Linked DNA regions of Homo sapiens: regions 1, 2 and 3 are each linked to region 4. Evidence: promoter capture Hi-C in 16 types of primary human blood cells and fetal thymus (Javierre and others, 2016). All regions are on one chromosome and are shown on one strand. Each heading gives the region's core, a stretch centred on a gene start or on the middle of the fragment in contact. The rest is flanking DNA. Distances are from core to core; before and after follow the strand shown. Region 1 overlaps DLEU1 (deleted in lymphocytic leukemia 1). Region 2 overlaps DLEU1 (deleted in lymphocytic leukemia 1). Region 3 overlaps DLEU2 (deleted in lymphocytic leukemia 2). Region 4 holds the start of DLEU7 (deleted in lymphocytic leukemia 7).

Region 1 (7,101 bases), core at 843-3,342, 680 kb after region 4:
ACATAAATGTACAACACAAGCTTTTCTAACATCTGTGAAGTTGAAAACAAACAAAAAATACTTGCCATGCTTGCTTAAGACTCTACACCAAAATCACATCACAAATTCTCTTGCCATACACTGGTTCACCAAAAAAGGAAACTAACAATATTTAGTTCCTGGCTACTATGTGCCAAGAACTTTCATATATGCTTCATGCATACCCTTTTGAGGTAAATACTATTATCTATATTTTAAAGATAAGGAAACTGAGGCTCACAGAGATGAAGACATTTTTCCCAAGATCTTGCAGCTGTGAAGGGGCAGGGGTGGTATTCAAACAGAAGACATGACAGCTTTTGAAGTGTACCTACAGCATAAGGTGGGAAGGCCATGGACTTTGGGTTTAGCTCACGGCTTGTACACGACAGCAGTATGATTTGAGACAGATGGCTGGGCCCCTTTCCTCATCCTAAGGATAAGAGTAACACTCACCTCAGAGGTATTGCAACAGCTGAATGAGTCGTGGATGTAAAAGGCTAGCAGTTAAAAGATGTTCAAGAATTTGTATTACTTTCCCTTCCTCTCAAGCTCCTTGGAAGCAGAGGCCATACCTTTTTTTTTTTTTTCCGCACACCCAGCCCTTAGCAAATATCTGTGAAATAAACTCTGCCGTGTCCAGTGTTGGTGACAGCTGATGTGGTGTTTTCAAAGCAATACTAGCAACATTATGCCCGCAACATTAAAATTCTCATTTCAACAGATTGCTTGCATGAAATATCCCAAATGACAATGCAAACAGAGTAGGAAATAGGTGGGAAAAGAACTTTAAAATGTATTAAACCATCGCTTCCAGCATCTCTTTTATTTAAAAAAAAAAAAAGAAAAGAAAAGAATTTAAGCCAATGGAATGTAGGTGAAACAGTAATTAAGTTACCGAACAAACATTTTAAGCAGCTTCATGACCCTGCAAGAGGCATGAGTGGCTAGTGGGCCAGGATTACATCTGACCCAGTAAGGTGGTCCAATGGGGCCAGACTTCTAGGCTTCCAGGCCAGCTTCTAGCACACTAACCCAAGCATCAAAATGCTGGAGCCAGCCCCCAGCCTTAAATGAAGGCAACACTAATATAAGAAATAGGGTTCGGCTTACAGATATATGTTTTGGCAAGAATTGGTCCACTTCTCTTCATTTCCACTTCAACCATCCTAGTCTAAGCCACCATTATCTGTAGCCTGGAATTCTGCAATAGCTTCTCTAACTGATCTCCTGCTCCTGACCTTGACCTCTATCATCCATTCTCATACTGCAGCCAGAGATAGCTTTTAAAAACACAAATCAGACCATGTCAGTCCCCTGGCCTCCCACAGTTCTTAGAATCAAAACCAAATTCTTCATTATGGTCTGGAAGGCCTAACGGAATCTGGCCTCTGCTTATCTCTTTATTTAGAGAATAAATGAGCAAATGAATGCATGAGAGTGATACAGCAATGCTCCACCTATCTTGGATGAAGCCCAGAATGTCTTGCATAAGAGGGGTGACTGCTACTGCTGTCATTTAACCTTTTTGGAATGTCTTGAGCACTCCGGGCTGTGTACAAAACACAATGATAATTCAATCCCTCAATCCCAGTTTTGTACACTGGGCTGTGTACAAAACACAAAGATAATTCAATACATTTCAAGAGCTGTATTCCAAGAGGTTGTTTTCCAAACATGGAAAGAAGAGAAGGGTCTTGCTTGGCAACACTTATTTCATTCTCTTTTTACTTCTTCAGACTTAGACAGTGGTGTGCAAAGAGCCATGAACAACTGTGAGGAAAAAAAAAAAAACTAGGAATACTAGAAAAAAGTAGATGTATGACTAGGAGGAGGGCGGAGAGAGAAATCAGTAAAAAGATAAGGAATGGGGCATGGGGGTGAGAGAAGGGAAGAAGCAATGAGGAGGAAAGGGAGAATCTATATATGACTTTCTGTCTTCTGTGGCAGCCATTTGACTGGGACTTATCCAAAAAAACAGAAATCAAGGTAAGCCTTTGGGCCTTGGAAGACCTATGACTATCTAGGAATGGAATTTAGTAGCTAGAAGACTACATACGTACACTTGGCTCTCTGAGCGGATGGATGAACAGAAGGCAAGAGTTATGGTTGGAAAATATTCCACCATGACTGTTTTCATTCACCTCCATTTCTGAAAATAATTTTCCCATCAGTCCTCAAGTTTCCGTAGACACTGACTGTACATGAACAACATTGCATAAGGAAGTAAGAGATGGGTAAGACTCCTTCCATTCTCCCTATTCCCCTTCTTACAGAGTTTTGGAGTCATCCACCAATAAAGTAAGAGAAGCAAGCTACAGGAATTTTAGCTCTTTAAATAACCCTGCTGTTCCTTCCTTTTTCTAAACTTCTAAAGCATTTATGTGTCATATACTGTCTTTTCTCATTATTTAACTGGTTCAAGTGCCTTATGTGTCTTAATAAATTATAAGTTCCTTGAGGGTAGAAACCATGTATTATTTCTTTCATTTGCATCCCCCACAGTGCTCAGCACAGGATCAGAAACATCAAAAACATTCAGGAAACACTCACTGGTCTAAATATGATCAAGAGCTTTATGGGATTGCCAGTTTATTTATTTTCAATTTTAAAATTTGTCTTTATTGCCCCTCCCAAAAAATCCTCTCTCAAGGATATGAAAATTTGTATCCTGACATTAGGGAAGAAACTGAGAAAGAATTACAGTTGAAATGTCAACAATAAATTCATAAATGGATGCACTCTACTTCCTCATCTGAATAGATGGTCTACCACGCCAAAAAACATCCTGATACCTCATGATGTGAGCAGTACTAATAATAGTTTATCCTGTTGCCATGTAAACACTGAGGAGCTAGCCCATTAATAAATGTGCTGGAAATACTGATCCTGTTCTAAAAATATCACTTCCTTTTCTCTTCAAGAAGCAATTTTCCAGGTTAATACAAATATGCAAGGAGAAGTGCTGAAGTTCTTCAGGGCCACCTGGAACTCTTGTAGATCCATTAGCTGGATGTCCCAAGTTCTTCTCACACTGTGAGAACTGGACTGAGCTGTCACTGCCATTGCCGACTTACTAAACCCTCCAAAAATGCAGCAGAGTCTGAGGTCGTGATGACCACTCCTTCATGGATCCATGGCACAAATCATGAAATGAGAGAATTATTTCCCTTGAGTTTGAACTTGGCCTCAGAACTTCTCTTGAACCCCTTGACACCCTCAAGCAGCCTTGATCAAGCAGAATAAAGACTTCACAGGAAGTCTTTTCCCCATACCTGAGCTAAGGCCTTCTGATCTCCCATAAAGAGCTACTGTGAAGATCAAACTCCAAATTAGGCTGTGAAATGACCTATATTTGTCTTCTGTGACCCTTAAGCTCTCTTAACAAGAGTTATCCCCCTTGTTTCTAAACTGCCAAAGTTTCATGCTGTATGTCTTCCCCTGGCCTACCTCCCATGAATGTTCTCAGGATCTTTCTTCCTCCAACCTGGTTCTCTGTTAAGACCCTTCTTTCTTAGTTCCAAAGATAACTGCTCATTTAGGCTGACAAACTCACCAAATGTGCAAATGCTCCACAGGAACATATTTGCATTTTTGAAAGTCCCTTCTGGAAACAATGGCCGGAATGACACCAATGGGGGAAATTTCAGACCTTAATGTGAATTGGCTAGAGGAGAAATTTGGGGACCTGAAAGAGAAACTGCTCTCAGTCATATCTCCTTAATTTTCTGTCAACCCTTTTTCAACCAGTGACTGACCTGGGTCTTTTCTAGATCCATTTCAGCAAGCCTACTTAACCACCGTATAAGAACATAACCCATAAAACACCCTCAAATTCCCAACAGAAGCTAAGGTAGCTGAAAAAAGAAGTACCTGATTTCCATGGGCACATGTTAAGTGGAAAAGTTTGCTCCCTTCACCCAAAAAAAATCTTGCCTCTGCAAGCACTAGCCTGGTACCTTCCAGAAGGTGAATAAATTAACTTGCCAATACCACTTAAGGCAAATGGCTTAATGTTTTCACCAGATCTGACCAGGCCCCAACAACAAGGAGTGGGTGGAGATGAGCGTGTATTTTCATTTATTTCACGAGCCCTATTCTCTGTGGACTTGTAGTTTCTAAACCTAGGTACAAAAAAAAGCTTTAACTGCATGAGTAACTTTTGTTTTGTGGTACATTATTGTTCACTTTCAATAATGTAACTCAAAAATGACTTATAGGATTACAAGAATATGGTATAAAATTTCTAATACAATTCAATGACCCTTAAGCAAAAACATGATCACCATCAACTGAAGTTATCCTATACAATGGCAGGAAACTGTCAAGCCCAATTATGTGAAAATGCAAGAGAAATGTTTAGACAAGCTCCTCACCAAGACTTTCCATTGCTCATACAATAGAGGAGGATTAAGATCAAAACTATAATATTATATCAGTTTTATGATTATAAAATATGCTATTCAAGTTAGTTCAACGTAGCATTGTCTGTCCTAGTACATATATTAGGATAACATTATAATGTATTTCTAAGAGGCAAATCACAGAAGCCACTTACCAATCAAAATGTGTAACTCCAGGTGAAGCTAGACAAAATTATTGATACAAATTTTCTCCAGAAGAGTGATTTAGGAATGCAAAATACTCTAGACACACCACCCATCCACAGTTGGTGTGTCTTGCTTTATTAGATGCAATCCATTTCCTCAGACACTTGTTCAATTGAGGTCTTGTAAAACTATTAGATTAGCATTGGGCATATAGTAAGTGCACAAAGAAATTTGTTGTTGTTGTTGTTGTTGTTGTTGTTGTTGTTGTTGTTTTGAGACGGAGTCTCGCTCTGTCACCTAGGCTGGAGTGCAGTGACGCGATCTTGGTTCACTACAAGCTCTGCCTCCCGGGTTCACGCCATTCTCCTGCCTCAGCCTCCCGAGTAGCTGGGACTACAAGGGCCTACCCCCGTGCCCAGCTAATTTTTTTTTGTATTTTTAGTAGAGACAGGGTTTCATGAAAGAATGAATGAGTGAATTGTTGGATAGACTAAGTATCTTCAATAAATGCAGAAAATGCCAGTGTAGAACCATATTACACTTTCTTCAAAAATGCTATTCTACTCTGCTTGTTAATTATCTCCTTAAGATAATTTCACTTTTTTAAATGTTTTAAGGCATTTGTTTTACTAGCAATGAATTAAATGTTAGTTAAGAATCTGCACGTCTAATCCATTTAGATATAGCATGTATTTTCTTCCTAGTTCATACATCTCATAAAATGCAAAAAAAAAGTATAATCCTGCTAGCATAAGTCATTAGCAGACAAAGATAAAAACTCATGAGCTCTGTGTTTTATTTTATCTCACATTCTGCTTCATAGTCCAACCAAGTTTCATAATGAAAATTTTTCTCAGCCGACGCCTCAAATGCTTTATTCTTCAAATACAATTGATTTGACCAATATCGCTGTGGTTTGGAAATGTTTTTCTTCCTGTTGGTCTCTGCCATGATCTCCTCTGGATATAGTTCAATTAGATGCCTTCTCACTTTTTCACAAGTTGCCTGTTATTGTAAAAGTTTGGGAAAACTTTGAAAAAGAACTATAAAACGTTTTCACTGTCAATAGAAAAAAATGGATTGCTTGAGCCAGACACAGCTCCCCATAGAGCTAACCTTTTGATCCTGGAATCCTTTCATGCGCTTAAGTCTTCACTAGCGTCAATGGGAGTGTTGTGTATGCAAGGGCAGCAGGATCAAGTTCAGTCTCTTCTTTAGTACTCTGTAGCCAAGTGGGGTAGCCAGCTGAATCTGGTTTAGTTAAAAAAAAAAAAAAAAAAAAAAAAACACAACACTTTCCTGATGCTTTGAAGTTTTTTGGGCAGTGTAATAATATCAGGATTTGTAGGACGTTATTTTGCATAATCCTTAATAAGATATTCTTATGGCTTCAAAAAGTTAGTGGGTTAAGAGAAGCAAGAACCTCCAGCACTCATAGGAAATATTTTTTTAAGTTCTGGGTAGAAATGGCTCAAAATGCATCTCGGGAAGATACATAATTATAAGACTGTCCAAATGTGTGTTCAGGCAGGAATGCACCTAAAACTATTCTTCATAGATGGATTTCTACTCTATCTTTAAAAGATAGAGATATAATATAATAATCTCTCAAAAGCTCTGATGAAAACAAAGAAGCTTGCTGGAGGATTCTACTATGTGTGTGGATTAAGTAACTCTGTGACTAATCCAACTATTTGAATCAAAACAAGGCATTCCTTTAGAATCTTTATCACTCTAACCTCACACTCACTCACTGATGAGGACTTTTTTCCAGGCAAGGTCAAAGGGCTGACCAAGGTGATTCTGCACCACCAAATAGAAAGGAGGCTGGAGAAGGGAGAAGTGCAGCGGCAGGATACAGAAGCCACAAAATCTCTCTGCTGGAAGCCAGTTCACCTTATTATTACCAAGAAACTGAGGTTCACTTTCTGGCATTTTGGCCTGAGCATTAAAATTTTAAATTAACACCATTGAACACAACCTACTCTTTTTTTTAATGAGCATTTTATTGTCACTTTGTGGAAGGGTACTGAAACCTCTGATTTAGTATAATCATATGATTATGATTTATTCATATTGGGAATTCAGCAGCATGGGCAACAACAACTCGGGTCTGGGGGGAAAAAAAACAGCCTCACTAAATAAGGGATGGTCCCACCACTAAATATGGGGTTAGGAGTGAGTTTCTCTTTGGTTAAATACACATGCACACATATTTCAGTAGCACGACAAAGCGAAAACAAACAGAATAAAGGTGAACATTGTACTTGGTAGTTGGAAATGAAGTGTGTCATTTTAATATATATGAATAACTGATTTTTCCCCACTTTTTGGAATCCAGATGTTGGTAATCTTTGCCTCAGAATGACGATTGCCTTTTTAAGAAATCTCTTAAAACTTTAGTAGTGGTCCTCACACAAAAAGACACTGGGTCTGGGCACGGTGGCTCATGCCTGTAATCCCAGCAATTAGGGAGGTTGAGGCAGGCAGATTACCTGAGGTCAGGATTTCGAGACCAGCCTTGCCAACATGG
Region 2 (6,608 bases), core at 1,693-4,192, 650 kb after region 4:
TTAAAAATAGAACTACCATATGATCCAGCAATCCCACTCCTGGGTATACATCCAAAGGAAATGAAATCAGTATGTCAAAGAGATATCTGTACTCTCATGCTAACTGCGGCATTATATAGTATTTCCATTTACAGATACAATAGACACAAATAGGCTGGGTGTGGTGGCTCAGGTCTGTCATCTCAGCACTTTGGGAGACTGAGTCTGGAAGATCACTTGAGGCCAGGAGTTCAAGACCAGTCTGGGCAACACAGTAAGACCCCAGTCTCTAAAAAAAAAATTGTTTTAATTAGCCAGGCGTGGTGGCTAGTGTCTATAGTTCCACCTACATGGGAGGCTGAGCTGGGAAGATCACTTGAGCTCAGAGCTTTGAGGCTGCAGTGAGCTATGATTGTGCCACTGCACTCCGGCCTGGGCTTCCAACCTGGGTAACAGAGCAAGACCCTGTCTCTAAAACAAACAAAAAGACATAAATAACTTCAATTGCAAGAATAATAGTAAAATGTACTTAAATAATTAAAAAGTGGTGAGTTTTGAGTACTACCTTTCTTTTTAATATTGTAAGTTTATATAACTTATCTAATAATGGTTGCATATAACAAGTGACTTGCAGAATTCCCCTAAACTTAACAATCAGCTCTGAAAAGCAAGCGTGAGCCAGTAGATCATGCTACTGCTTAAGAGCTCACACCCATTTACCACAGATATCATCTCGAAGAGGCAAGTGGAAGGAAAATTGAACAACTGAGTCATTTCCCCAAAATAAATTAACTTATCATTAATGATAAAGGTAAGTGGCTACTGCCACCTCTGCTGCCACCACTTTCAACCTCAAAGGTTCAGGAAGAGATGAAATCAGTTACCAAAACGTTACAGAAACTATTTTTTTTTATATCTGAATTTTAGTGTGTGTCAGTTAGAAATTCTGTGCCAAGTATGGAATCCTTCAATGGAGGTAGCTTATGTGGGTAGAGGTTTATTGCATTCACATGTCAAACAATAAGGCTTATTACTTCATGGTCAGAAAATAGCTGCCTCAGCTCCAGGCAATACATTTGTTTTCAAGCCAAGATGAAGGGGCAAGCAGCACAGCAGTTTCTCTGCTCTTTTATTAAGAGCACAAAAGCTTTCCCAGGAGTCTTCCTTCCCCATTCCCTTCTTCCCAGTGGACTTCTGCTGCTTAAATCTTACTGGTCAGAACAAGGTTACTCAGCCACCCCTAGCTGCAGGGAAGCTATCCTTATCCTTAATAGAAGATATTCTGATTGGCTGAAACCAGTCAAGATCCATTGCCCGGGCTGAGTACATTGCTGCCAATATATGAACAAACTCTGGGTTCTGTTAGGGAGGAAGACTTGGGTAATGGAGAATGGGCAAGCTGGCAGCAGAGTCTGGTGCAGTTTAAGTCAATATTTCTAACCCCAATTTACACAGCAGATAAAAAGTAGAAGGACTATTTTAAGTGGAAAAGAGCCAAGATTGGCATTTGCTTGCCAGAGCATAAGATGGAAATGCAGGAAGAGCCTGGGAAGTGTCTCTCATATCTAAGGCAGAATGCTACCAGGGGTACAAACGAGTAGGGCCTGGACATCTTAGCTGCTGCTGGACCTCCAGGTCCCACCGGCCATCATGCTGACTGAACAGCCACTGTAAGAACAGGAAATGGGGTACAGACAATGAAGTCCAATGTTAAAGAGGTTTCCCTGTCCAGGAAAACAAAGGAACAATAGACTCCTACGCTTAATATTTTAAGAGTTTTGTGGTGCTTTCTGAGGACCTGAGGCCCACTTGCTCTTCCCTTAGGACATAGCTCATGTTTCATAAAGCTGGGGCGAGCAGTAGGACTGAGAAGAAAAGTGAGAAGATTCCTCCTTCCCTGCCTCTAATGAACAAACCTTGGGACTAGCAAAGGTTAATTACTTGCCTGATCCAGGCTTATTCCTTGAAAAGGAGCTGAATGACTAAACATTTGTGAACATTGAGTCGCACAGCCCATCAGCAAATGGAGCCTGCCCTACTCTAACCAGGCACATGACCATCACCTGGCCAATGGACTAATTGTAGGACTGATGCTGGATTCAGAAAAAAAGCAAGTCAGAGCTGTTCAGGAGGCTACAGGGGCTGGGGGAGTGAGAATTACAACTAAACAGGACTTAAATGTAAAATTAAAAGTTCCATGTTAGCTTTTCTGAAATAAAATATAAGTCTTTTACTTGAATAAGCTGAATAAATGCAAATGATATCAGGCAGAAAAGATCTGAGATTTGTCTATCCACTGCAAAAATTACACATGTGAATTGTTTATTCTTCTAGTGAAACATATCTAATGCTTTTCCCCTCTCATAATATTAACTTGTTTAAAGAACATTTATACGATAACATCTTGAGTTCTTTGTTTTCTAGGTTTCTCAACCAAAGTTCTCTTCTTGAAGTCTTTGTGAAAAAAAAAAATTGCTGCCTCTTTAAACTAGTGCTCAGGCATGAAAATGTTTAACTAATTTCATTTTCTTGATAAAGTTTATCTGTGATCAGAATTGAGTCATACCAAAAATACTTCTATAAGATTTGACCTTTTACTTAAATCCCACATCGAGATAATATACTCAAAATGGTTATCAATAAGACCTTTGTTTTTTAAAGCACATCTAAAATAAATCACTTTTTAAAAGCAGAAAACTGTTTTCAATTAAGTCTTTTACAGGCAATCAGCTTGAAAGTTATACTTGCCCTTGTATTTTTTATGTATATAAATTATGCCCAAGAGTGCCATGATAGCAGCATTATGCTAACTATGCCTTACCTTTGTATTTACTTCTTGTCAAAATAAGCTTTACAAATTAATTGGTTTTAGAGTGCTTTATGACCAATAATGACTGCATTATACTAGTGCCAGAGTAAAAGCAATGCAAGCAGCAACTACTTTTTCTTGTTATTGAGAAACACCTAGTCTAATTAGATAAGGATAATTAATTCTTAATTTCTTCTGATGAAGAGTTTTCTTGCAGTAGAACAACTTTACCCCATTCCAACAATGTTTATCATTTAGAAAAGCTTTAAAGAGACTTCTGCTTGAGTCTCTGACCCAAGTAATCCTGTGATACCTACACAGGGCTAACTACTAGTCTTGGCCTCCTGTATGTTTTAACCACCTCACCCTTTCATCAATGAATCCTATCTGCTCTTCAGATGCTGGGAGCATACTAGATAAGTAGATAATTTTAAAAGTATCCATTCAAAAATAGGCATTTCATGCCTATAATCCCAGCATTTTGAGAGGTTGAGGCAGGAGGATTGCTTGAGCCCAGGAGTTTGAAATGCCTGGACAACACAGCAAGATCATGTCTCTGGCTTTAAAAAAAAAAAAAAAGGCATTTCTCTTATTTTTTAAGTTTCCCATTTTTCCCCATTTGCTTTCGCCCTAGATCCCATCCATGTCAGTGGCTGCTTTTATTAGTGGCAGATTTTGCATTTTCCTTAGAGATTTACTAAGAATATCCTAGAGGAGCAAAATTCAGAACTAAACAAGAAAAAAAGAACAAAATCCAGGAATACAATAATTATATATATATTTTAATCTAAATTACTATATAATGAGTTTGCTGCTTCTAAAATTAGTGATAAGGGGCAGTTTTTTAAAAATTAGATCAAGGTTGGAAGAGATGTTTACCCAAAGGACCTAGAGATGAGAGAAGAGTCAGCGTTTGGAAAAAGCTGAGAATCTCATTAGCCCAAAGGGGTGAGTACAAGGCAGGAAAGGAAAAGCAAAGCTGAACTTTGAGAAGTTGGATAGATAGGAGCAAAGAGCAGTCCAGGATAGGGTCTCGAACAACTAGGACACCCTTTTCCAGTCCCCAACCACATAGAGGAAGGGGAAGAAGAGAAGAACAGTGACCAAGCTGAAAGTCTGAATTGAACGCACAAAAAACAGCAATAAGAATGACCATAGACTTCAGGTAAAGCCATTCTTCCTCTCAAGTCTTTCTTTTGGACCAGTTACTGGGCCCAAGATCTCTGAGAAGTTTTGCCACAGAAGTAACATCAGTACAACATGTTAGCATCCCGGTTAACTGGATTAAGAATATTAGGAGCTACATCTCCAGCCCTCTTGGATAAGCCACCTGCAAATGAAAGAGCCCCATACCTAGAACTTGCCACCCAAAAGATATGTCCCTGTGCTGTGGCCCAAACAGCTCCACCAACTGGACGAACCTATAACTTGTTGACAGCTTTCTCTCTCTGGTTCTCAGATGAGGAATGATGATAAAACAAAACCAAAAGACATCTTACTGAGGAAGATCAGCTCCAGTGGATTTCTCTGAGACAACCCAAGTTAGATGGAGCTAATGGGAAAAAACACAGGAATTCTTTAAACTATCATTCAAGCAAAACATCTCTCCTAACTGTTCCTTTTAAAGTAGCTAGACCTGTTAGAGATTTTATTGAGTGGATATAAGCACTTTCTACAGAAACATTTTTTTTAAAGTACATCACCTTTTCATAGAACAGAGGAAGAGCTGTCACATCAGTTGCTGATGCCAAGCACAGCAATATAAAGTATATCCCCTACGAGTTAGATGAAGCAGAGGAAAGGGATCAAGAGATTAATATACCTCTTTGACAAAAGCACCCAAAATAAATAATTTTATTATTTATTGCAATTCTCTAATGCCTTATTTTTCACTGAGCTCTAAAAACATGATCATATCCATCAAGTAATACCCATATATATGCATGGGAATTCAATTGTAATTTACATGTTCCTATACTCTCCATGGATGCTGTGATGGTTAATTTTAATGTGTCAACTTGACTGGGCCATACGGTGCCTGGACATTTGGCCAAACACTCTTTTGAGTGTGTCTATAAGAATGTTTGTGGGTGAGATTAACATTTGAATTGGTAGAGTGAGTAAAGCAGATCACCCTCCCTAATGTATGTGGGCTTCATCCAATCAGTTGAAGACTGAACAGAACAAAAAGGCTGAATGAGAGAGAATTCCTTCTGTCTGACTACCTTCAAGCTGGGACATCAGTCTTTTCCTGCTTTTGGACTCAAACTGAAATATCAGCTCTTCCTCAGTCTTGAGCCTGCAGGGAAGTTTTAGAGTAAAACTTAAGACCCATCAGCTCTCCTGGGTCCCAGTTTAACAACTCACCCTGCAAATCTTTGGACTTTTGGGACTTGTCAAGTTCTACAATCACATGAGCCAATTCCTTATAATGAATGTATTTATATACAGAGAGAGAGAGATATGTGTATGTATGTATATATGGAGAACCTATATCGCTCCTATTGTTTCTGTTCTGTGGAAAGCCCTGAATAATACAGATGCATCTATAAATTTATAGCAAAGCTGTGTAAAGGATAAAGATATGCTAAATCATCTTAGTCATTTTCCTCTCCCCTAGAGCCCTGTGTCCTGCTCTCATCCTGCTAGGAGTAACTCAAAGAATAATTTGGGGTAGAAGTCATCCTCAGACTGGAAAGCAATGAGGCACAGCACCACTACCATGCTCAGAATTAACACCTAAATTTACTACCTTTATATATGGCCTTCTGGAAGCAAATGGTTTTAAACAACTTTATTTCTAAGGAGAGACCAAAAGGAGAAGTGAGGAGTGTGGCTGTGGGCCCACTGTTTGGTAAATACTGTAACAGTAACTGTATACCTCTCCTCATAGTGACCTTACTAATTTAATGAAAGTGTGAAGGCAGATGGATCTGGTTTGCAGGGTCTTAGATGACTTTATTGAACACATCATATCAAAGTGAGAACAAGCAATATGTCTCAAGCCAAGATCAAAGAGTTTTAAATAAGCAAAATATTCCTACTAATACGAAAATTTCATTTACCAAAATTCTGGAGCAATGTGGCTTATTCTCACAAGAAAACCCACCAGAGCTAGACAGAACATGTTCCAGAGGACTGCATACACCAGGGAAGGTCAGTGTGGTGTGCAGGGGCACAAAGGATGAGAGAACCACCCAGAGTGAGGACACTGTAGGCAGAGCAAGAGAGAGATTTTCATAGCTGTCATGAGCGGAAACTGGCAAGAAGGAAAGAGGTGTCAAGGAACTGTTTAGGAAGCTTTCTGTATCCTTTCACTATATAAAATCCCTATGCAAAGCCTCCTAAAAATAAAACTTACAGCAAATATTTACATTATTCTTCAAAGTTTCTCAAGTTGGACTGTTGTTTCTTTGAATGTTAAACTACAAAGAGACTGAGCCCATACCAGGAGACCTGGCTTTGTCGGTTACACTGCATTAGACAAAGTCCATCTTCAGATTGCAACATCTTTCCCAATGCCCATCAGCACAGACCTTTCCCATCACTATAACAACCTACAATCCACTGTAAACAGTGTGGTCATCATCAAGAAAAGTGAAAGAATTGAGCTTTGGTATTTTGTGTTGTCTATTTCAGAAGTCTTTCCTTATTTTTGTCATTCTTAGTACCTTAGTATCTCAGCACCCATCAACTAACTCTAAAAACAAGACAAAACAAAAAAAAAAAGCAAATTGGGTTATGTCCAACATTTTGGCTCCAGGCATGGCTATAGGTTTCCTCTGCAATGTCTCAGACCAATAGAAAGATTACATAGACG
Region 3 (6,225 bases), core at 2,822-5,321, 720 kb after region 4:
CGTCCCTGGGGCGCCGGGTGGTGAGAGACCCGCTGGGCCGTGTGGGCCCGCAGTCCAGCCCAGCGGGTGTGTGGTTGGAGTCTGTCACAGAGCCCCGAGGGACGCGATCCCAGCAGTCGTTACGCGCTATTTGGGGAAACTCGGGGTTTTGGTGACTCAGCGCGGTGAGCGCTATTTATAGGTAGATGCGTTAGGAGAAGGGAAATAAGCTTCGCTCGAATCCGTCCATTCGTCCGCCCGAGGACTGCAAAGAGCTCCGTTTGGAGGCAACAACTGAAAGACTTCTGAAAAAGATTTGGCAGTTAGAGCCTGTGGTATAAGACATAGCAGGCCTCGCCAGGAGACTAGTTACAACAGTTCGTCTCAAAAAGTTAGAACGTTTTCTGGAGTAGATGGAGGATTTTAGGGACACGTCATGACCCGTAGAGTGTCTTTTTGGGTGTTAGTGTGTGAACCACGAGCAATAATTCAGGTGAAAACCGAGCAGTCCTCCCAGTAGATCGCAGTCTATCAAGAACTGCGTTGTTAGTTGCAGGATTTGTAAAATACATAACATCATATGTGGATAGGTATTAAAAAACTGAATGATGTTGAAAGTTGCTATGCAATATTCTGTAACAGGAAGGTGTGTGTGGCATTTATCTAGAATAAAAAATGTGGAGATTGTAAATTACATGTTTACAATCCAATTTCTCCCTCCCGAAAAGCACTATGAAAAAAAGGCCTTTGATTCTTCAACAGTGTATAAATGCTACACAAACAGTTTTGGCTTCACTTTATGATTTTGATTCTTTTTTCCCACCTCCACCCCAGTTTGTAAATCCAGGAGGTAGATGTTAAGAGAGAGCAATTGCCAGGTTAGCTGCAGGGAGGCAAGAGGCCAGGTCGGGCAGGGCTTTGTATATACCCTGCATGCTGAAGAATTTGGACTTTAGCCTGAGACCTACAAGTTTTGGGGGAAACACATACCTTTTGAGGAAAATAAAAAGCAATGGGCTCTTTCTCTAGGAAAAAAAAATGCGCTTACATACCTATACTAAAATTTTGCATACAATTTTAGGGGGGTTACTTGCTTTATGAGTAAATTCCTATTCTGCCTCAGGACTAAAACATAGGAAAGGGAGAGCCATGAAAGGAGTTTTGGAAATGTCATATTGAGGTGTACACTGGTTGAAGTCCTGGAGACTTGAAGATGGAATGTAAAACAGCCTGTGACCTAAGTAACAATCAATTAGGACCACCGCTGTGTACCTAGGGATAGTGGGGATAGAGAAAAGAGGAATTCAAGGAAGTAATTAAATTGGTGGAATTCTGTTGGTGGAATGGGAAAACTGGTTGGCTGTAAAGGGCAAGAGCAAGAGATACCCAGATTTCTGGTTTAGGGTGTGGACTAAAAGGAGAAGTAGGCCTCAAGTCTAGGGGAAGGAACTCTGTTTTGTCCCTGTAGAATCTGAAGTATCAGAGAACTACTGGGGGAGCAGGGGGTGTTGAAGTAGTTTGGCTCTCTGGAGTCATTAAAATGTAGGTGATAGCTAAAGCAGTGGGAGGGGCTTAGATGGACCACAAAGGGTGCCCTGTAAGAAGTGGTCTGAGGAGGGAACCCTGGGAACACCCATATTCAGGGGAAGAAGGGGAGCAGAAGGAATCTTTGAAGAACCGTGATGAGTGACTAAAGACAGAGCAGTGTCCGTAGCATATAACTGATGAATAAAATCCTGCTTCCTTGATAATAGAAACATGTTGCTGCTTTGTTCCCTTTATATGACTGAAAAAGCTGTGTTCTCTTTCAGTGAAAAAGAAACCATAATTGTCTTTCTGGAGATTTGAATTTAGAAGGACAGTGAAGATAGGAGAGGATGAAATCTTGCTTCTCCCTTTTTTTGAAACTAGAGATACCTAAGGAAGAAGAAAAGGAGAAATGGAAGAAATCAAACTTTGTCTTTCCCCTGCTCAGTCTCTAAGCCCTCAAGGAAAGGTGTTGGGATAGACTGAGTCCCCATGATGGTGTTTTTTGCACTTCAAAAGCACACTTAATCTCCAACAGTTAGTAGCAGAAGGTGCTAAACTCACAGTCTGGCTAAGGAAATAAGGAAGCGTGGAAGGAAAGGGTTTTCCTTTGCCTCTTCCATTTCCTTCCTTCCAACAGGTTAACCCGTTACAGTTAACCTGACTAGGGATTTATTGGAAGCAGTGACTTAAGTACAGAAACCACCCCAAAATTTAGTGGCTTAAAACAACATTACCTTGCCTAGTAGAGAAAACTTGTTTCTAATCCACTGGATGACAGCTGGGGCAGCTCAAAGGCTGGAGCTGGCATCATCTGAAGGCTTGTCCACTTGCTTGTCTAGTGGTTAATACTGACTGATGGCTGGGGCTATCAGCCAGAACACCTACACATGGCCTCTCCATGTGGTCTGGCTGCCTCACAACAGGGTGGCTAGTTCCACAGGTCCTAAGACTGAGAGCCAGATGGAAACTGTATCACAGAGTCTCACTCTGTCACCCAGGCTGGAGTGCAGTGGCGCGATCTCAGTTCACTGCAACCTATGCCTCCTAGGTTCAAGTGATTCTCCTGCCTCAGCATCCTGAGCAGCTGGGACTACAAGCACGTGCCACCACGCCTGGCTGATTTTTGTATTTTTAATAGAGAGGGGGTTTCACCGTGTTAGCCAGGATGGTCTCGATCTCCTGACCTTGTGATCCGCCCGCCTCGGCCTCCCAAAGTGTTTGGATTACAGGCGTGAGCCATCACACCTGGTAAAACTGTATCATTTTTTATAACCTAGTCTTAGAAGCCATGCAGCATCATATCCATCACTTCCGTTTGTTAAAAGCAAATTACTAAGGCCATATGTGTTCTGGGGAGGGGAATTAGACTCCACCTTTTAATGGTAGGAGTGTCAATTTGCAACATGTTTAAAATCACCACATGTAACTTCTGATAAATAGATTTATAAACAGTACATTTGTACATTAGAAAAGTTTAAACATAAGAAACCTAATAAATACCCTCTTTTTTATATTAGAATGAAATATAAAAACCCAAACATTTAAATGTTCCAGCAAAGCTAATCCTGAGCCAACTTGAGTAGGCAGTCTGTCTCATAATCTTCCTGCACCTTTCTTCTCCCTGTGTCCATTCCCTCCAGGTCAGGCCTCCTGTGCACACATACCCTTCTCTCCCAAACTAGGTAGGACATTCACAGTAGCTGTACCTCCACGGTGATGAAAACTTTTTTCTTTGCCCTCCATGAGTTATCCCAACTTTGGACCTCATAGGATCGCTGGCAATCAATGGCATAATGTCCTTCTCAAAATTAAAAAGCAAAATGCTATGGAGAATATTCCAGTAAGTAATTTTATAATAATAATTAAAACAAAATGACATTTCCCAAAAGGGACAATATGCTTTTAGATGTTACGATATTGACTTTATTGGGGCTTGTTTATTCATCAAAATCAGTAATTCTAAAGGAACAGTTGAGGCTTTTAAGTATTTTATAAGAGTATGCATGTTTCCTATGAAGGCGACGTAACACTTGATTATTACAATAAAAAAATGGATACTTCTCCCACCTTTATAATGCAGACTGATTTATTTTTATTTTAAACCAGCATATATAATTATTTGTTTGGTAGAGAGACTCAAGAGTTATCGCTCTAAAAAACTGAAAATACTACTTTTCATTGAATAATCAAGGTTAAATAATCTTTTCTTATAACCTAGTATCTTGTAAAATTCTCCCTAAGCTGATATTAACTTATACATCTTTGGTGTTTTTTGTTTTTTTTAAGAAATATTAAATGTGCTTCCTCTATGACTTAGAAATAGAAATAGTGCTTAGGCCATTTTAATAATTTGTACTTTCCTAAAGGCTAATCCCTCTAATTTTGGTAATTTTGCATATTTATATTTATGTTGAGTCAAAATCACACTGTAAGTTCATACTGTAGAATATGAGTTTTTAAATAAGTACGTCCAGATAAGGAGCAAATATATATTTATGAACCCTTTATTTTTTGGTGTATTACTTAATGATGTTTGAAGTAGCTTTTTTAAAAAATAAAATGAAGAAACTATACCTTTGTTTTTAAAGTTTCTCATACAGTAATGATTTAACAACAACAACAAAAAAAGGATGCAGCATTCAGGATAAACTGATAGACTTTGCTATCAGATCTAAACTGTACTTACTTCTCTGTGAGCTCATAGCTACCACGGAGGCAGCCCAAAGGAGCTTAAGTAAACACTAAAATTACATAATGCGGTTCTGAAGGAGCAACAACCCCAACCAAACTGTGCCATATAGTTTCACAGATGCTGTTTTTCTGTATGCCAGAATGCTCTCCTATCTATAGAATGACTTCACAGTAATGATAACGTGAAAGAAAATTGGAAGTGGGCCAGTCTGTCTCCAGACATTTTGAATGAAGGCAGGGTTGAGGAAATTATTTTAAAGTAATTATGCAGTGAGTTTTTTAAAACCTTATAAACTAAGCATTTAGTAGCACTTTGGAAAGTGTAGTGAAACTGGCACATGGAGAAATAAATTCAATACAGAAAATATGATACCAGGATCACATAGCTTAGGGTCTTAAAAAAAGAAAATATGATCTTGCTAGCTAATAGTAATAATGCGGCCGGGCGCGGTGGCTCACGCCTGTAATCCCAGCACTTTGGGAGGCCGAGGCGGGCGGATCACGAGGTCAGGAGATCGAGACCATCCTGGCTAACACGGTGAAACCCCGTCTCTACTAAAAATACAAAAAATTAGCCGGGCGAGGTGGCGGGCGCCTGTAGTCCCAGCTACTCGGGAGGCTGAGGCAGGAGAATGGCGTGAACCCCAGGGGGCGGAGCCTGCAGTGAGCCGAGATTGCGCCACTGCACTCCAGCCTGGGCGACAGCGAGACTCCGTCTCAAAAAAAAAAAAAAAAAAAAAAAAATAGTAATAATGCTCTGTCTACAAATACATTAAGAACTAAATGCAATCTTCTTAAGTAAAAAAACAAAGAATTACAAGTCCTTAAGGTAGTAAAGTTATTCCTATGAATATGTGAGTAAAAATTCAACTTTGCCTAATTAAATTACAGAAAGAGACCCCTCCCCCGTCAGATTGACAAAGATTGAAAATAAGTGCTGATAACCAGTGCCACTAAGAGTGCAATAAAACTTTCAGTCTTGTCTGGGCGAGGTGGCTCACGCCTGTAATCCCAGCACTTTGAGAGGCCGTGGCGGGCGGATCACGAGGACAGGAGTTTGAGACCAGCCTGGCCAACATGGTGAAACTCCATCTGTACTAAAAAAAATATAAAAATTAGCCGGGCAGGGTGGCCTGTGCCTGTAATCCCAGCTACTCGGGAGGCTGAGGCAGGAGAATCACTTGAACCCGGGAGGTGGAGGTTGCAGTGAGCCAAGATCGTGCCACTGCACTGCAGCCTGGGCAACAGAGCAACACTTGGTCTCAAAAGAAAAAAAAAAGAAAAAAAAAACTTTCAGTCTTATCTATTACCTTTCTGGGGTCTTAAAAATGTCCAATTCTTTGACACAGTAGTTGCACTAACAGGAACCAATTTGAAGGAGATAATCAGATATGAAATCACAGATTTATGCATATTCACTAGAGTATCTATACAGAGGAAACAATCTGAATATTCAGCAGTGGGAGAGTGGTTTAATAAACCATGGTGTATCAATCTAACAAAATATGTATCTATTAAAAATACTTAATGACACAAATATTAATGTTTAATATACACTAAGATTTTTAGTTTATAAAACTTTCTCATTTATTTAAAAATGCATAGGAAATGCATATATAATATATATGTAAAATGCATAGGAAAAGGGTGGAAAAAGTACACCAAAATGTACTCTGTGATTATGGTCATTTTTACCTTTGTATATTTTCTAAAATGAGCACATATTATTTTAACAATCAGGAAAAAAATCATTAAAGCTAAAAGATTTTCTTCTGAATATTTAAATCAAATGACATATTTACAACTTTACAGCACAAGGATAGTTAATAAAGTAACATAACTTATTAGTTACTTTTCATAAGTAACTTTTCATTTGGCATAGTTATAACAGTATCTGCCAGTGAATAATCTCTGCTTACTAAAATAATGTATAGGCAAATATAGAGTATTATGCAAGGGTATAATCTGAGGTTTCACATTTTGGTGGAAAAGTTGTTCGGGCAAATGTTGGTAGAATCTGTAAAT
Region 4 (6,741 bases), core at 446-2,945:
GTGATTTCAATTCTGCTCTTGGCTGCAATTCCAACTGTCAAGAAAGTTTTGCAGTCAGCCATTTGATAGTGGAAGGGTTAGCCCATGAAACTGAATTTCCTGTGTATCTGGAAAGAGAGGCAGCCCTAGAGATCTGACATGCTCTGTGAAAATTAGGGGTTCATTTTTGCTATTGCTGGTTAGTCTCTGCTGAACCTAATATATTTCAACATTTGAAGACTTTTTTTAAAAAGAAAATTTTTTTCTTTCTATTTTTTATTATGAACTTAAGTAACTTCATGGCAAAAAAATCTAATCAACATTAAACTATTTACTTCCCTCCAAAGTAATTTCCTCTCTGTCAATGCACAGACGTGCATTTTTACTTAGTTATAATTAGTGTGAACATACTCGTTTTTGTTTAAGAAAGGTTTTCTTTACCTTGGCATTCAGATTCGTTTTCATAGGCGAAGAAAGCACTGGGAAGGAGAAGGAACCTTTGCTGGCAAGTTGGGAGGATTATATGGGGTCATACTATCCCAGGGTTAAGGAAACCTTAAAGGACCCAACATCCCTCTCCATATCTCTTCTGATGATCCTTTTGTGCTCACAGACTAACCAGTGTGGCCTTTTCACTCAAAAGCCTCTCCAGATCTGCACAGCACCAAGGGTGCAGTCTGGCTCCCAAAGGAGTAATGCAATTCCATCCTCAGGTCTGCCAGGGCCCACCTGTCTGTCGTGGGCATGCACCATTGCCCTGGCTTTACTGGGCTGTTGGGTTGTCTAGTGGTTTTCCTTGCAGAAAGCAAGCAGGAACAATGCTGCTCCGGACTGGTTTTCCATACCACTCCTCTCAAATATCTTCTATTTTCTTAAGTGTGATCACACACCCATGGTTTCCAATCTATCAAAGCATAACATTGCTAGTCGCTTTTTTCTAAGTTAAGGAAGTAGCCATGTTGGGTTTAATTAAAAACAGCAACTATTTGTACAGCTGTCCCTAAGTTCATGGCTCATAAAAGGATTAACTTCAACCTTGCTGCCTAAGTCTTTTGGGAGTGTCACAAAAAAACATTTAGGCTTTTCTGGGCAGTGCCAGGCCTGGGCCTTGAGGCTTGCTGATGCTAGTTCAGCCACCAGGCTCTCGGTGCTCAAGTGGCACCCAGCAAAGCAGAGAAGAGCAGAACTTCCAGATACACAACTCCTCCTTCTTTTGTTTGGGGGATGCAAGGCCTTGAAGGCTGCTTCAACAAGTTTCTGAAAATTCCCCTCGGGTTGGGAAAGGCACAGTCTTCCTTTTGCAAGTTTTTCTAGAGCCCTTCGTACTTTTGCCCTAGAGTGGGTCTTTTGCACCCCCACCTCCCAGACCTCAGTGGTCATTGGCAGGCATCCTTCGAAGGAGGTGGGGGCGGGGTATCCCCGCCGATGGATGCGCCCGCACAAAGCAGCACGTTTTCTCATCAAAGCCCTGGAGAGAGGGAAGAAGCAACGCTCAGCATTTCGCTGATTTTCAAGTGCACACCGAGCAGCGCTTCAGGCAGCTTTGGGTCAGAACACGCCTGATTCGGACTTCAGGCGAAGGCAGAGGCCAGCACGGGTCACCGATTCAGAGCCGGGGGCGGGGCCGACCACACACGCTGTGAGACCCAGAGGCCGAGGAGCCGCGGGTTAGAAAATGTGACCTTGGCGACCCCAACGCCCCCGCCTCCCTCGCTGCTGCTCCACCTGCACGCGGAGCGCGCCGGGCCGCCAGCGGAGGCGATGGCCAGCCCTGCGCCCTTAGTGGCCTCCATCAGCCACCAAATGGTGGCTCTGCAGACCTTGCAGCTGCTGCAGCAGGAGTGGGGCTGGGGGGACGGTCCAGTCGCCCCCGGGAACCCGCGGGACCCAGACCACGTGTCCACCGCTCCAGCCCGTCGCTCAGGCCCGCCGCGGGCCCGGCCGGGGCCCGGGCGCGAGGAGCGGGGCGGGGGCGTGGGGACCAGGAGTCGGCGGACCGCGGCGCGGGCGAACTCCCCAGAGGAGGAGGTAGTGCGAGGCGCTGAGGGGGGCGCCGAGTTGCTGCCCTTCCCCCGGGACCGCGGGCCCTGCACCCTGGCCCAGATGGCGATGCGCAGCGCGCTGGCCCGCGTGGTGGACTCGACTTCGGAGCTGGTCAGCGTGGAGCAGACGCTGCTGGGGCCCCTCCAGCAGGAGCGGTCCTTTCCCATTCACCTGAAGGTGAGTCTGGCCCCCGCCATCCCCTCTGGCGTGCAGGGTAACCTCCCATCCTCCAAGGGTGGGGCTGCTGGGATGGCGATGGGTGGATCGCAGGATCCCAAACACTGCTGCCCACTGTGATTCAGCCCCAGTGGGAGAAGGAAGGGGGCGGGGGACACTCTGGGGACTCAGCAGGAGGGGCAGGGAGCCCCAGACCCACCTGAGGCCCGCCTGGCTGGCACAACCGAGATGTGGGGACTGCCTTGCCAAAACCTCCCCCTGGAACTCCTTCCTCTCTCACATAAATCAGCTTCCTGCGCTAGAAAGGCCCTTTCCACACGTGCAGCTTGTAGGGATAGAGGACAGCTCCCCCCACCCACTTTCCAAATTAATAACGCTTCCTCCAGAGCCTTAAATACACTTACTAAGTCCCTTCTGCCTTTTGTATGATGAAATCATCTACATTTATTTAAAGTTCCTTCACATTCATGAATCACTATTATTTTTTGCATAAATCCAATTCCCCACAGAGCTAAGGGGTCTTACAGAGTCAACCTACATTCTCATAAAGTGGGGTGAGAGCTGGGTGGGTCCCGGGTGTTAAAGCGTGAATACTAAATGCTAAACTCTTGCTAAGTCACCCAGCTCATATAGGTAGGGCACATTTCCTCTTAAGGTACCAAACTGTGTTAGCCAATTTAGCCCGGGAAGGGAGCAGCTGTCTCCCAGGCTGAGTGAGATTGCGGAAATCTGGGGGTCTGGGTTTCAGTCCTGGACTTGCCATTAACTAACCTAATTGGTTTAAGGTCACGAATCTCTCTGAGACATTCTGGCTTTCAGATTTTGACCAGGAGCATTGCTGTATTTTATTTCCCTGGGGCATCTAGCAGAAGGAGTTGGGGAGGGGTGATGAGGAGAGCTTAGAATATGTCTCAAGAGTTGCTATTCTGTACAAGCCAAGGTTTGGAAAAAGTTGCTATACATTAAGTTGCACTATACACTGTAAAAGATTTATTTAAAATCAAACATAATAAAGCCTATTATATACCCAAATAGGTATTGTTTCTCTACGTAGGGGTTTCTCAATCTCTGTACTATTCACATTTTGACCTGGCTAATTCTTTGTTGTCGGGGGTTGTCCTGTGTATTAGAGGATGTTTAGCAGCATCTCTCGCCTCTACCTGTTAGATGCCAGCAGCATATTCCTCGCCGCAAGTTGATACAGCCAAAAATGTCTCCAGACACTGCCAAAGGTGGCGGGGGCGGTGGGGTGGGAGGCAAGATGAGAAGCACTCCTACACTCACTTTAGAAAGTTAGAAAATGAAGCTGCATTTCACCAAATGCTCTCCAATGTAAGATGTACTTTTTTTTGGTATCACCAAAATTTTTTTTAATCCTGTCATTGAACTATGATACACCATTGATTATAAGTTACATGCTAATTTAAGGGATTTTTTTTTTTTTTTTTTTGAGACAAGGTCTGCCTGTGTTGCCAAGGCTGCAGTGTGGTAGCCATTCACAGGTGCGATCATAACACTACAGCCTCGAGCCCTGGGCTCAAGTGATCCTCCTGCCTCAGCCTCCTCAGTAGCTGCAACTACAAACCTGTACCACCACATCTGGCTGATTTCAGGGATTTTTAAAAAATGTGAATAAAAGTGCATTTTAAAATAGATGAAATATGAAGTGACTTGTGATGTCAGTAGCACATACAGGGCATAGGTAAGGCTGGCAAAAAGAGAGACTGACAATCAGTTTTACCTAAGGTGACCCTGGAAGGCTTCTCAGAGGAGGCAGCCTTTAAAAAAAAAATACATGTTATTTTCCAGACATTAAAGGGAAAAATATTTCAGGAGAATACTTTGGTTAAGGCCCAGCAGCACTGAAAGGGACTGAGGCTCTAGAGGAACTACAGTTAAGTTCAATATGGCAGAAGGCAAAAACTGATGCTGGAGACACAAATGGGGGCCAGTTAGGGAAAGGCCTGTGTGTCATGCTGAGGACCTTGGATTGTCTTGCAAGCAGAGGGTAGGTAAATCACAGAAGCCTGGATAAATCACAGAAGGGTAGGTTTCAGTTTGAAAGTCAGGTCAGAAGACAGCTGTCTAAGGGCTTGACCCAACTCAGTGGCAATGGACTAAACCCCGTGTCCTCTGCTCTGGAAGCAGTCCACTATAAACTATGCCATTTTAGCTTAATGCCACAGTCACTTCTACTTGGAAATCCTTTTAGCCCTTTCTAATTGACTTTTGATTCTAAACATTTTCCATCCTCCTCAAGCCTTCTTCATCCAAACCTCAACCCGCTCACACCTTTTCTGAGAAAATAGAGGCCAGTGGACAGAAATATCTTTCTACCTAAAAAATTGCATTTCTACTCATCTTCATTTTTGTTTCTAAAATTCAAGTGCTGCCCCCCCATCCCCATGTATATTCATGTTAATTCCACTGGAGCAAATCTTTCACTTGCTCCTGGACCTGTTTCTATCAATTTTCTCTCTCCTTACATTTTCTACCGCCCCCTCTTTGCTGACCCTCTTGGTCCATAACACTCTTTACTTACCCAGCCCTTGAGTCCCCATCCTTCCCTTCCTTGTCATGAGCAAACTTTGAAAACATTTAGATGTACTGCTTCCACTTTCTAGAAGTATACAACTACTGGAGTCTGCTGTTCACCCGCAGGGGGATAATGAGTTTTAGGGCCCCTGGGAACAGCGAGGGCTTTCGAGAGAAGCAGAGAGCAGTTTCTCTGCATGATTTGTTCCCTTGGGAGCACCTAGGAATTTTGCTTGGTTTGCTGTTTGCAGAATAGGTAATATCTCCACTTGGTTTGTAGAGTAATGATTACACAGCACTTAGACTTGAGGAGATGGCATTCTGTCTTTCCAGGGGGCTGGTTATGCAGACTTAGCTTCCTTAATACTAGTGTTAATTCAAATGACTTGGAAGGGTGTTTTGTATATTTTTAAATTGGGAACATACAGATTTTATACAATAGAATGGTTTCAGAAATCCTTGCAGGAGGATTTCCGGGAATGGAAATAACTATTTTGTATCACCTAGAAGTACGTGGGAACCTCCCCAACATCAGATCTCTTTGGTGGTGTTACTTACCACGGAAGGTAGGAGGAAGACTCACTTGAACTAAAGCCCATGGCGCAGATGACAGGCATTAGAGATCCTGCAGTGGAGAGAGCATAGCACAGCAGTCAAGTCCCATGGAGCATTTCAAACCTACTCTTCCACTTCCTGTCATTGGCCCTTGGGTAAGTTATTTAGCCTTTCTGTCCCTCAGTTTCCTCCCTGTATAGTGAGGACAATGGTATCTAACCTAAAGGGTTACTGAGATAATGCATTTAGTCAGTGGCTTCCCAAAGTTAATCTCCATCTATTTGAGCTATTATGATTATCATTATTATTACTGTTAACAGGTTGATGCCTCATGAATTCTTATTGACTGTTATTTTTGTGAATTCTATTCTTGATATTAATGAATATGATCCATGAACTCTGTGTCTGCTTTTCTGGAACTATTGACAAAAACAGACTTAGGATGACCCAAAGAGATTTCCAGGAAGCCTACACTATCTAGAGGTCAGCTTTAGCCTCATGCCTAGTGACAGGCTTAGAGGTGTCACCAGTGAGTGACTCACTGATCAATCCACCAGAAGGTTAAGGCAGTGAAATCTGCAGGCATGGAGGCAGAAAAATTCTCACCACAATGATAACAGACATTTAAAAATAGGATTTTACTCTTTAATTAAAGAAACCAACACAATACTCCTTTTGAACACTTAGAAATGATCATACACATGCAAACACCTATTGCAGTGAGTTTCTTCATGGTGGATGAAAAATGCTTAACAGTACTAAATCTTATTAAATTTGCTGCAGAGACTAGGTTTAACCAGCTTAACAAACATTTATAATAGGAGGAAACTGAGGCTTGGAGGAATTGAGGACTTTGCTCAAGACCCTGCAGCTAAGAAGTGATGGGTTTTATCTAACTTATTCTCCTACATTACAGTGCTTGCCCTTAGGGGCGTTATGAACATCATGCTGAAATTGTGTATGTGAGAGATCTTAGGGGCCGTAGTTGTACATGCTGTGCACTGTGTACACTGCTTGGACTACAACAGTCACATCGTAGCCTGGCAGCTCTGCTTGCCATAGCAAAATACCAAAGACGGGGTGACTTAAATAACAGACATTTATATTCTCCCTGTTCTGGAGGTTGGAAGTCCAAAATCATGGTGCCAACAAATTCCATTTCTAGTAAGAGCTTCCTTCCTGGCTTGCAGACAGCTGCCTTCTCGCTGCGTCCTCACATGGCCCGTCCGCAGTGCGTGCAAGCAGAGAGAGAAAGCTTTGCATGTCTTTGGTGTCTCTTCTTATAACAACACCAGTCCTATCAGATTCAAGCCACCTTGTAACTTCAATTTATCTTAATTACCTCGCTAAGACCATATCTCCAAATACAGTCACATTGGGGGTTGAACATATGAATGAGGGGACCACACAATTTAGTCCATAACACTGGATGATCTCTGTACCTCCTTCCAT

What was found. The method cuts DNA at HindIII sites, captures the fragments that hold promoters and counts their contacts. A CHiCAGO score of 5 or more calls a contact.
Region 1: a fragment that was not itself captured here is called in contact with the fragment with the promoter of DLEU7 in region 4 in 1 of 17 cell types (total CD8 T cells); the score reaches 6.4 in total CD8 T cells.
Region 2: a fragment that was not itself captured here is called in contact with the fragment with the promoter of DLEU7 in region 4 in 3 of 17 cell types (naive B cells, total CD8 T cells and total B cells); the score reaches 5.5 in naive B cells.
Region 3: a fragment that was not itself captured here is called in contact with the fragment with the promoter of DLEU7 in region 4 in 1 of 17 cell types (fetal thymus); the score reaches 5.5 in fetal thymus.

Annotation. Positions count from the first base shown.
Region 1 is chr13:50,155,545-50,162,645 of GRCh38, reverse strand. All of the region lies in intron 2 of DLEU1 (deleted in lymphocytic leukemia 1), which reads right to left. Among named protein-coding and RNA genes, the nearest start is that of DLEU2, 34 kb to the right of the region's middle. The HindIII fragment of the contact is 4,139 bases long and covers 23-4,161 here.
Region 2 is chr13:50,187,231-50,193,838 of GRCh38, reverse strand. The region is part of intron 2 of DLEU1 (deleted in lymphocytic leukemia 1); the gene reads right to left. Among named protein-coding and RNA genes, the nearest start is that of DLEU2, 65 kb to the right of the region's middle. The HindIII fragment of the contact is 223 bases long and covers 2,831-3,053 here.
Region 3 is chr13:50,117,864-50,124,088 of GRCh38, reverse strand. The region is part of intron 1 of DLEU2 (deleted in lymphocytic leukemia 2); the gene reads left to right. All of the region lies in intron 2 of DLEU1 (deleted in lymphocytic leukemia 1), which reads right to left. Among named protein-coding and RNA genes, the nearest start is that of DLEU2, 4.6 kb to the left of the region's middle. RefSeq lists a silencer at 1-85 and an enhancer at 1,744-2,269. The HindIII fragment of the contact is 7,720 bases long and covers 212-6,225 here.
Region 4 is chr13:50,838,646-50,845,386 of GRCh38, reverse strand. DLEU7 (deleted in lymphocytic leukemia 7) reads left to right here and starts at 1,695. Exons shown (of 2, transcript NM_001306135.2): 1 at 1,695-2,199. The coding sequence starts at 1,741. It overlaps DLEU7-AS1 (DLEU7 antisense RNA 1), which reads right to left. Exons shown (of 5, transcript NR_046551.1): 4 at 5,293-5,359. RefSeq lists an enhancer at 1,839-2,765. The HindIII fragment of the contact is 9,888 bases long and covers 1-6,546 here.